3 separate regions of the Homo sapiens genome follow, and regions 1 and 3 are each linked to region 2. The links are contacts of gene promoters, found by promoter capture Hi-C in blood cells and fetal thymus (Javierre and others, 2016). All regions are on one chromosome and are shown on one strand. Each heading gives the region's core, a stretch centred on a gene start or on the middle of the fragment in contact. The rest is flanking DNA. Distances are from core to core; before and after follow the strand shown. Region 1 overlaps PCDHA1 (protocadherin alpha 1). Region 2 holds the start of PCDHB4 (protocadherin beta 4). Region 3 overlaps PCDHA1 (protocadherin alpha 1).

Evidence for each region. Contacts are between HindIII fragments. The CHiCAGO score rates a contact against its expected background, and 5 or more counts as called.
Region 1: a fragment that was not itself captured here is called in contact with the fragment with the promoter of PCDHB4 in region 2 in 1 of 17 cell types (M0 macrophages); the score reaches 6.5 in M0 macrophages.
Region 3: a contact is called between a fragment that was not itself captured here and the fragment with the promoter of PCDHB4 in region 2, in 1 of 17 cell types (M0 macrophages). The highest score is 6.2, in M0 macrophages.

Annotation. Positions count from the first base shown.
Region 1 is chr5:140,934,916-140,938,577 of GRCh38, reverse strand. All of the region lies in intron 1 of PCDHA1 (protocadherin alpha 1), which reads right to left. All of the region lies in intron 1 of PCDHA2 (protocadherin alpha 2), which reads right to left. The region is part of intron 1 of PCDHA3 (protocadherin alpha 3); the gene reads right to left. All of the region lies in intron 1 of PCDHA4 (protocadherin alpha 4), which reads right to left. It also overlaps PCDHA5, PCDHA6, PCDHA7, PCDHA8, PCDHA9 and PCDHA10, and 5 more genes. Among named protein-coding and RNA genes, the nearest start is that of PCDHAC1, 10 kb to the right of the region's middle. The HindIII fragment of the contact is 499 bases long and covers 1,604-2,102 here.
Region 2 is chr5:141,120,412-141,124,069 of GRCh38, reverse strand. PCDHB4 (protocadherin beta 4) reads right to left here and starts at 2,252. Exons shown (of 1, transcript NM_018938.4): 1 at 1-2,252. The coding sequence starts at 2,071. It also overlaps PCDHB@. The HindIII fragment of the contact is 8,854 bases long and covers 1-3,658 here.
Region 3 is chr5:140,891,467-140,895,527 of GRCh38, reverse strand. All of the region lies in intron 1 of PCDHA1 (protocadherin alpha 1), which reads right to left. The region is part of intron 1 of PCDHA2 (protocadherin alpha 2); the gene reads right to left. The region is part of intron 1 of PCDHA3 (protocadherin alpha 3); the gene reads right to left. All of the region lies in intron 1 of PCDHA4 (protocadherin alpha 4), which reads right to left. It also overlaps PCDHA5, PCDHA6, PCDHA7, PCDHA8, PCDHA9 and PCDHA10, and 4 more genes. Among named protein-coding and RNA genes, the nearest start is that of PCDHA13, 11 kb to the right of the region's middle. The HindIII fragment of the contact is 1,307 bases long and covers 1,821-3,127 here.

The DNA.
Region 1 (3,662 bases), core at 604-3,103, 190 kb after region 2:
CAACCAATATAATGCATGCTATTAATAAAAGGATAAAAATCCATATTATCCATTCAATAACAGAAAATATGTGATAAATTCAATGCCTATTCATGATTTTTAAAAAACATAATAAATTAAAAAACAAAGGGAACTTAATAAATCTGATAAAGGATTTTTGCAAATAAACCCAATCAAACAATGTATTTCATATTAAATATTTAAAAACTTCCTCTCTGAGACCAGGAATAAGACAAGATTATCCATTAACATTACTTCTATTCAATTTTATACTGAATTTCATAGGCAATGACAGAAAGCAAGAAAACTATGTGATTAGAAAGTTTTTAAAAGACCAGGCATGGTGGCCTATGCCTGTAATCCCAGCACTTTGGGAGGCTGGCGTGGGAGGATTGCTTGAGCCCAGGAGCTCCAGACTAGCCTGGGCAATGTAGTGAGACTCTATCTCTATTTTTTTAAAAAAAGAGAGAAAGTAAAAAATACAATAATAAAACTAACATTATTTGGGAATAGCATGACAGTATATGTAGAAAACCCAAAATATAAAAATATGAGATTTTACTATTTAGCAAGAACATTGGATACAAAGTTAACATAAAATCAGTATTATTTCTATATACTTTCAACAAAAGCCAATTATCAAATTAAACTTTTTTTTTTTTTTTTGAGACGGAGTCTCACTCTGTCGCCCAGGCTGGAGTGCAGTGGCGCGATCTCGGCTCACTCCAAGTTCCGCCTTCCAGGTTCATGCCATTCTCCTGCCTCAGCTTCCCGAGTAGCTGGGACTACATACGCCCGCCACCACGCCCGACTAATTTTTTGTATTTTTAGTAGAGACGGGGTTTCACCGTGTTAGCCAGGATGGTCTTGATCTCCTGACCTCGTGATCCGCCTGCCTCAGCCTCCCAAAGTGCTGGGATTACAGGCGTGAGCCACCATGCCCTGCCTTTCTTTTTCTTTTTAGATGGAGTATCACTCTGTTGCCCAGGCTAGAGTGCAGTGACGCGATCCCAGCTCACTGCAACCTCTGCCTCGCAGGTTCAAGCAATTCTCCTGCCTCAGCCTCCTGAGTAGCTGGGATTACGGGTATGTGCCAACATGTCCAGCTAATTTTTGTATTATAAAATTAAACTTTTAAAATAGCATTAAAATATCAGCTATCTAATAAAAGTTGTGCAATACCCCTATATACACATACACACACATAAACATTAAGATAAAATAATAAAATAAATGGAAGAAGCCGGGCGCGGTGGCTCACGCCTGTAATCCCAGCACTTTGGGAGGCCGAAGCGGGTGAATCACGAGGTCAGGAGATCGAGACCATCCTGGCTAACACGGTGAAACCCCGTCTCTACAAAAAATACAAAAAATTAGCCGGGCATGGTGGCGGGCGCCTGTAGTCCCAGCTACTCGGGAGGCTGAGGCAGGAGAATGGCATGAACCCGGGAGGCGGAGCTTGCAGTGAGCCGAGACTGCGCCACTGCACTCCAGCCTGGGCGACAGAGCGAGACTCCGTCTCAAAAAAAAAAAAAAAAGATAAATGGAAGAATATACCTTGTTAATCGGTTGTCTGTCTCAATATTGTCAATGTTAACAAGCTTCATATTTTTATAGATTCAATAAAGATCAAAATAAGATATTTTCAATATACCCCATATTTTCTACAGATTCAATATAGTGCCAATTAAAATCAAAGCAGGGTTTTTTAAAATAGAAACTGAGAAGCTGAATCTACAATTTATATAGAAATGCAAAGGGCCAAAAATAGCTAAGTTAATCTTGAAGCAGAATAACAAAGTGAGAGAACTTACACAATTAGATATCAATACAAATGAAAAGTTACTATATTTAACACAGAATGTATTGGCACAAGAATAGACAAGTTGACCAATGAAACAGAATAGACAGTCCAGAAACAGAATATATAAAGTCACGTTGCTTATGACAAAGGTAGCACTGCACAGTAGCAGCGAGGAAAGTAGGCAATCTAACTGGATTTACAAGTGGAAAATATAAATCTTGACTTCTACATTGCACTATATTCAAAAGCAATTTCAGGTAATTTAAGATCTAAATGTGCAAGTTAAAACAAGAAAGCTTCCAGAACTACAGCAACCACTAAACAGATGTGGTTATTTAAGCTTAAATTAATTAAAATTAGTAACATTAAAAATTGAGTAGCCCAGTTTCACTAGCCACATTTCAAGTGCTCAGTAGCTACACATTCCATATATGCAGATAGAGAAAATTTATAGCATGTCAGAAAGTTCTATTGGATAGCAATGTTATAGAAGAAAACACAGGAATATATCTTCATGACTTGAAGCAGGATATGTTTTCTTTAAAAGGATAGAAAGAATACTAAATAAAAAAGACAACTTTGGCTGGGCGTGGTGGTTTAGGCCTCTAATCCCAGCACTTTAGGAGGCCAAGGCGGGCAGATCACTTAAGGTCAGGAGTTCGAGACCAGCCTGGCCAACATGGTGAAACCCTGTCTCTACTAAAAGTATAAAAATTAGCCGGGTGTGGTGGTGGGTGCCTGTAATCCCCGCTACTCGGGAGGCTGAGGTGGGAGAATCGCTTGAACCCGGGAGGCAGAGATTGCAGTGAGCCAAGATTGTACCACTTTACTCCAGCCTGGGCAACAGAATGAGAATCTGTCTCAAAAAAAAAAAAAAAAGATAATATTGATAAATTGGAGCTCATTAATTGCTAATCAAAAGACACCATTAAGCAGTATGGAATATGTGTAAATACTATACTACTATGAAATAATCTCGTTTATATTTTTAAGTGAAAAAACTCAAAGTGGGGAAGAATGTGTATTGTATGGAATAATAGATACTAGACTTCTCTAAATATATTTTGTTTTATAAGTTTATTTTGGAGCCATGTAAATATTTCACATAATTATAAAAGAAAATTAAAATTTAAAAAGCAAGCCCTAAATTTGAAAGCGACTTGAAAAAAGCCTAGCTCTGTATCTAGCTGGTGGCTTAACTACACAGAGAGGAACTTTTCCAAGATACTTTAAAACACAATAATTTGACTGTACATGCCTACTGGGCATTTGTAAGGATGTGCCTTATAAATGAAAAGAATGACAAAAACTTAAACTGCTACAGTATCATATTATTTCTGTAGTGCTGAAATTGTTTTCTAAGTCCATTGTTTGAGTCCCGTGGGATAACAAATGAGTAATTCTGTTGACGTTAATGAAAACTGGGATTTGACGTATGGGAGAAATAGGAATGTAAGATTGATGAAGTTAAGTAAAAACCTCGGAGTGCTGAACTTTATTAGATTAGTATAAACATGTGATGTATTTTATCTTTTAAAAAATAGACATCCCTTAGCTCAGTAGCTGAAGATACCTAGAAACAGCAACTGACCCAGCAGCAATAAGCACACCTGTTGTTGAGATTATATCTCTAAGTATCATCTTTCACTAAAAATAAGTGAAAGCTCTTTGAAAAATGGCTGATTCTGGGAAAGGAAATGTACAAGATAATCTGAACATCTTGTAATACCAGAAATCAAGGAAGCATTCAAAAGACTATTAAGACTCACATGAAAAGGATTCAGGGTGTTATCACTGGGGAAAAGTGGGTGACAAGCACATGGGATCTCTCTATACTAGTTTTGTAACTTTATGTGAA
Region 2 (3,658 bases), core at 1,003-3,502:
CCACCAGGTAGACGGTGAGAGAGTCGGCCTGGGCCTGGGCCGGGGCCGCCTCAGGGAGAGGCAGGTAGGGCTGGGAGAAGCCATCCACCAGGAGCACGTGCAGCGTGGCGGTGGCCGAGCGCGGAGGCTCGCCATTGTCCTTGACAAGCACCACGAGCCTGTGCTTGGCTGCGTCGCGCTCGCTCAGCAGCCTGGCGGTGCGCACCTCGCCATTGTGCGCCCACACGCCGAACAGCCCAGGCTCCGTGGCCTTGAGCAGCTGGTACGACAGCCAGGCGTTCTGGCCCGAGTCGCCGTCCACCGCCACCACCTTGGTCACCAGGTAGCCCGGCTCGGCCGCCCGGGGCACCAGCTCGGTGCAGGGCGCGGAGCCATTCTGCAGCGGGTACAGCACGAAGGGCGAGTTGTCGTTGGTGTCCAGCACCAGCACGCGCACCAGCGCCTCGCTGCTCAAAGCCGGAGAACCGCGGTCTGAGGCGCCCACGCGGAACTCGAACGCCTGCAGGGCCTCGTAGTCCAGCGACCTGAGGGCGAACAGGTGGCCGTTGTCTGCGTTGATGGAGACCAGGGAGGCGAGGGGCAGGTGCGGGTCCTGGGGCGGCAGCAGCGAGTAGGTGACCTGGGCGTTGGTGCCCGAGTCTCTGTCTGTGGCGCTGACACTGCCGATGTGCAGGGCGGGGCTGTTGTTCTCGCGGACGAACAGGGTGTAGGAGGTTTGGGTGAAGGCGGGGGCGTTGTCATTGACGTCGGAGACCTGCACGGTTATGTTCTGCTGGGTTTTCAGCCTGGGTGTCCCCAAGTCAGTGACGGCGATGGTGATGTTGTACTCAGCGCTGGTCTCTCGGTCCAGTGGTCTCTCTGTTACCAGGGTGTAAAAATTCTTCAAAGTTGGTTTTAGAATAAACGGTAGATTATCTGGAATAGAGCAAATCATCTTTCCATTTTCTCCGGAATCTCTATCTCGAATTCGGAAGATAGAGACTACCGTCTCAGGAGCATTTTCTGGGATGGAGCTGGTGAGTGAAGATATGATAAGTTCTGGGGGATTGTCATTCACATCCACCACCTCTATGACTACAGTGCCTTTTCCAGAAAGGCCTCCTCCATCTGTGGCCTCAATTTCTACATGGTAAGATTTAATTTTTTCGAAATCCAATTTTTTTTTCAACAGTATTTCTCCCGTGACTTCATTTATTGAGAAAGTTTGTTTAATTTCATCTGATGCTTGGAATAAGCCATAAGAAACACTCCCGAAGTTTCCAGCATCTATATCTCTAGCTAAGACCCTAACAATTGGAGAGTCTAGGGGGCTGTTTTCCAGGACCTGCACCCCATATGGAGTGTGCACAAACTCAGGAGCATTGTCATTGATGTCCATGATCAGGATTCGAACCATGACCGTGCCAGACCTAGGTGGTGACCCACCATCCAGCGCCACGAGGGTTAAGCTGAACTCAGGCTGCTCCTCTCGATCCAGTGGTTTGTCCTGCACCAAATCTGGGTATTTCTTGCCCTCACTATGATTTCGAGTGAGAATGTGAAAATGAGAATTGGGGCTGATTGTGTATTTTTGAAGACCATTGCTGCCCACATCCAAATCCTCAGCTATTAGCAACGGAAATAGAGTACCCGGCTGGCTATTTTCTAGTATTTTCAAGAGCACTTCCCTTTCAGGGAATATTGGAGAGTGATCATTTATGTCCTGGATCAATAATTCTCCTTGAAAAAATTGCACCGGCATTTCCAGGAACACTTGGAAATGCAGTACACACGGTTCAATAGGACCACAGAGCTCTTCCCGGTCTAGTTTCTCCCTCAGAAGCAAATCTCCAGTCTGACGATCCAGCTGCAAACGCTGCTTGTCATCGTCAGACAGCACCCGGGCTGACCGGGAGGCCAGTTCCCCAATTCCCAGGCCCAGATCCTTGGCCAGATGGGCTACAAAGGAGCCGCTCTCTGTTTCCTCCAACACAGAATAACGAATAGGCTCGAGGCGAACCTGAGACAAGAACACCATCAAAATAAAGGCCAACACTTGCCTGTTTGGATGAATTCTCCCTAGCTTCTTCATGTTGGAGTCCAGGTCCCTATATCCAATCCCCTCAGCAACCGCAACGAGACTTGAGACATTCAATTCCAATTTCTTGCTTGGAGGAATCGTCACACAGTTGCTTTTAATATTAAATTTGTTTAGTATATCGCTGCCCCAAGCCGTTGGTAAACCTGCACTGCTTGTAACGCTTCTTCCGTGTGTTTTTGATTGCGTCTAGCGACACAGAAGAATACGCGCGAGCTTTTTAGGGCTCATTATTCACAACTTAGCCTGCAGCGCCACCCTGCGTCTTGATTGAGAAATTAACAACTTCAAGACAACGTATTTGGGAAGTTTTAAAATAAAAGCCATTTTTAAGAGCATAGAATTTTTACAAACTTTGTTACATTAAACTGCATAATTTAAAAGGTTATTTAATTACAGTGCACGAACCAGAATAATCATGAGCACAAATCAAGAAGATATCTCAGACTCCCCACACGCTTATCAGTGAAACTTCAAAGAACTCCATTTCTTCTTTACATAATCCAGCCACAGGAGACAAATTTTTATACACTTTCAATTCAATTCTTAGTAGTTATAAATGTTCTTTTCTAAGAATGTGAGGACTTTGTGATGATGCAAAAGTTTAAGATGTTCTCTATACATGGTCTAAAGCGCGACTACCTTTGAAACGAAAGGTTCTATTTTCCTACTTTAATGTGCAAATAGTAATACAGGTGAATAGACAGGTATCTTGTTTTGTATCAAGTAATTTATAGTGTGAACCTACATTGAACCTAGGAGTAAGGCAAATAGTATTAGAATCACAGATTCTTAGAACTAAAGAGGAAATAAAAGATAAGGAAACTAAAACTGAAGCTCAGAGGGTAACAGGACTTGATTATTCTATGTGACTATTATGAGGATAATGTCAAGACAAAAGTGAGTAACAGTCACAGAATTTTGTGAAGATAAAGGCTTTAAGCTGAGCTTATTTAGCAAGATAGATGTAATCTATATTTTACAATGAGTTTGCCTGTTACCACACTCACCTTTTGTATCCCAGATATCATATTCCTTGACCAGCTAATTTTGGGGAAAACAAGAAGCACTGATTTAAAATATTTTATTCTGTGACCAAAGGGTGACTTAGGCTGTCTCTACTCAGATATGGTGAAGTAAAGAGACTTGTGTATAAAATGGATCCCACCACAGTGTGTAGCTACTGTGATTACTCTCAAACAATAAGAAAGAATGGTACCACTGAGACACAGTTAACCAATTTATTGGTTGCAATTAATACACTGAATGGAGCACCACTTATCTTGCCACATATAAGATTTTCTCCCCTTAAATATCTTGTTATTTTATTTAGTTATCCAATTCATATAAGTAATTATAATTTATAATTCATGTTAAATTAATTCTTTTTAAAGCATGAAATCTGAGATTTCAGATTCTGATAGTGATAGAAAGTATTAGTAAAAATTGTGAAAGATACATGGATTTTATTTAGTAAATACCAGTTGAATTAATAAATTAATCCACTCAAATGATGTTTTTATCTATATAAGCAGATTATTGTCAGATCATATATTCAGCCTTGAACATGTCTGAAACTGA
Region 3 (4,061 bases), core at 1,225-3,724, 230 kb after region 2:
AAACGAATAAACCAATTAAAAATTGGGCAAAAGTTCTGAATAGGTATTTCTCCGAAGAGGATAAAGAAATGACCAATAAGCACATGAAAAGAGTCTCAGGAGGAAGCAAAAGAAGGTTATGGGGCTTTTGATGGTGTTGAGAATTGAAGAACTCCAAAAAGTGCCAATAAGTACTCACTGGAAAGCATAGTAAAACAATTTGAGAACAATAGTCATGGGTGGAAGGGGGGAAATCGAAGGTCCTAATTCAATTATCCCTGAGTAAGAAAAAAAAGAAAGCTTTGAAAAGAGAGATGAGAAAACTCAGTAAAATATTAGAAATAAAAGCAAATTCAAAACTTAGCAGAAGGGACTACAAATAGATTGGATTGTGCTAAACCTGTCTTAGCCCTATGAACTTGTCAACTAACAAATGTCTTCTTGTAGCAAAAACCCCTATACTGAGGAGGAACTGATAGGAATTGAGTCCATATGAAGCAGAATGGTGTGGGTGGGGGACAATTAAACAAAGGAAAAAGGTCCAAGTAAAAAGGGTAAAGGATGTCACAAAGTAAGACATTAAAAAATTATATTTTTATCATTTCATGACAATAGCTGAATAGAAATCTATAGAGCAACAAAGATAGGAAAATTATCCTGGTCTGTTTCTTCTAAAATTATGGGGGAGCACTTTTCATATAAAAATGAGCATAAGAAAAGGATTATGGGCAAATCTGATATAAAATTATTTTTAAAGGAGAGGACAAATAATTACACTAAAGGAAATAAATACACACAAGAAAAAAAATTCCACAAATTGCTACGTAATATTTGAAAACAACTTAAACATTTTTAGAAAATAATGAAAAGCTATGCAAGAATACACAAATCAGAATTAGAGAGACTCAGTAATGATATGATTGGAGAAGAAAAGCTTTGAAAAGAGAGATGAGAAAACTCAGTAAAATATTAAAAAAAAGGAAAATAATTTTTTCAGAAGTAAACACTAAACCAGAAGGCACATAACAGCATATAAACACTATGGATAATGCCTAAAGAAAACTATAAGATGAAAACAAGAATAAAAAGTAAAATATTTTTTAAAAAAGAGCTAGGTAGGATTTAGGAGTGTTAGCTACAAAAGAAAAGCAAAGAATATCTAATACAAATATAATTGGAGCCATTGAAGAAGAAATCTGAAGTAATAAAACAGAAGAAATACTAAAATCTATAATTTAAGAAAACTTTCCAGGAAAATAAACTTCAAAAATACTTGTAAATAAGCTACCACTTGTAAAGAAAAGAAAATTACATTGTCATTCAACATCTTTAAAATGAGAATATAATAGCATAGAAAAAATATATAACTATGGAAAGAAAGTCAAAATCAGGGATAATTACATAGAAGGGAATTATTTCAAGTTATTTGAAACTTCTCATCTGCAACACCAGGAGCTAGAAGATACTGGAATAAAATAAATGTATTTAAAAATCAATTCAACAGAGGACTTACATTACCAGTATGCAGAACTGGTAATTTGAACCAACCATACAATTGGAGATATTTTAAAATTATAAAAGTATCTAATGACTAATAAAGTCATGCAGAATTAACAGGTAGAGATTCTGAAAAAGACCACAAATTCAGAAGGTAAAGTAACTTTCTGGCCACTTTGGATCTGGGTTGTTTCTATACAAGAGGTAGGGCATCAGGATGGCTGAGTAGTCTACGGTACCAGACTCAAGACAAGGAGGGAATTCTAAAAACGGTAAAAGAAAAGTGACAAGTCACCTATAAGAAAATTCCCATCAGACTAACAGCAGATTTCTCAGCAGAAGCTTTACAGGCTAGGATAGAATGAGATGATATATCCAAAGTGCTGAAATTTTTTAAAACTATCAGCCAAAAATACTATACCAAGCAGAGCTATACTTCAGAAATGAAGGAGAAATAAAGTATTTCCCAAACAAGCAAAAACTGAGGAAGTACACTACAACTAGATAAGTCCTACAAGAAATACTTAAAGGAGTTCTACAACTGCTTTTTTTTTCTTTTTTGTGAAGAACAGGGTCTTGCTATGTTGCCCAGGCTGGTCTTGAACTCCTGGCTTCAAGCGATCTTCCTGCCTCTGCCTCCCTAAGTGCTGGGATTACAGGCATGAGCCACTGTCCCATAAATGCTGTTGGTGGGCATGTAAATTAGCACTGCCACTAAGGAAAACAGTATGGGAGTCCCTCAAAAAACTACAAATAGAACTACCATATCATCCAGCAATTCCACTATTGGGCATTTATCCAAAGAAAAGGAAACCAGTATGTCAAAGTGATACCTGCACCTCCCATACTTACTGCAGCACTATTCACAATAGCTACTATGTGGAATCAACCTCAATATCCATCAACAGATGAGTGGATAAAGAAAATGTGGTGTATATGCACAACGGAATATTATCCAGCCATAAAAAAGAATGAAATCCTGTTATTCATGGCAGTATGGCTGAGCCTGGAGGGCATATGTTAAGTGAAATAAGTCAGGCACAGAAAAATAAATACATGTTCTCACTTATACGGCAGCTACAAAATTTTATTGAGCTCATGGAAGTAGTATTGTGCTTATCAGAGGCTGGGAAGGGTGAAGGAAAAGGAGGATGGGGAAAGGTTGGTTAATGGATACGAAATTATAGCTACACAGGAGGAATGGGTTGTGGTGTTTTGCAGCACTGTAGCACTGTAGGATAAATATGGTTAACTATAATTTCTTACATATTTTCAAGAAGCTAGAAGAGTGGATTTTAAATGTTCACCATGCAAAAATGGTAAATGTTTGAGATTATGAATATGCTAATTACCCTGATTTTATTATTATACATTGTATATATGTATCAAAATGTCACTCTGTATCCTATAAATATGTACAATTATTATGTACCAACTGGAAATAAAAGGAAAAAAATAGGTGAATGAATACTGAGATATACTTTTGACAGTCTCCAAGGACTAGAGAAACAAAAGTCAGAATCCTGAGTCTACCAGTCATGGTGGAACTTCTTAAACAATCTCTCATGTTTGGCTAGGAAACTGAATAACCGTACTTAAAGAATACATGTAAATTTTAGATAATGAGGTTTTATCTAGAATACCTGAAGCTTGAAATAGATTAAGATTACCCATGATTGCTAGTGCCCCAAGATGCCTGGCAAAAGTCAATTAAAATCCATTCTGGAGAAAGAAAATGTTATAAGCCCCAAATTATTTCCAGGAAGAAGTGTTTAATACAACTTTCAGCACAAAATCAAAGATAACCAGGTTTATGTGGAGACAAAACACCATAAAGATACAATTTTAAAACACACCACAGGAATAGACCCATGAGGATCCCAGTTACTGGACATATCAGAAATAGACGCTAAAACCATGAGCTTATTGTGTTCCAGATATAAATGCCAAGCTTGAAAGTTTCGAGAGGAAACTAGAAATTATACAAAGTAACAATAAATTTGAAAAAGAATAAATAAAAGTATCTTAGACCATTTGTGCTGCTATAACAGAATGCCACAGACTGAGTAATTTATGAGAACGGAAATTTACTTCTCACAATTCTGGAGCCTAGGGGAAGTCCAAGATCAAGGCACCAGCATCTGGTGAAGATCTTCTTGCTGCATCGTCACATGACAGAGCCAAAAGCATAAGAGAGGGACAGGCTCCTTCCATCAAGTCCTTTTACAGTGCCGTTAATTTATTCATGAGGGCAGATCCCTCATAATCTAAACATTTCCTGAAATTCCCCACCTCCCAACACTGTTGTATAAGGGATTGAATTTTCAACACATGAATTTGGGGGTACAAATTCAGACAACAGCAAGAAGAGAGAATTATTAAACTTTAAGGTGGGTGAACTATCCACAATAAAGCCCAAAGAGCAAAAGGTGTTAAAATAAAAGGTAGAAATAGATGGGATAGAGTAATAAGATTAAAATATGTTTAATTAGAGTACTAAAATAATACTATAGAAATACAATGGAACAGAAGCAACATTGGAGAACATTATAGCTGAGGATATGCTCAAAGTGATGTAAAGGCAT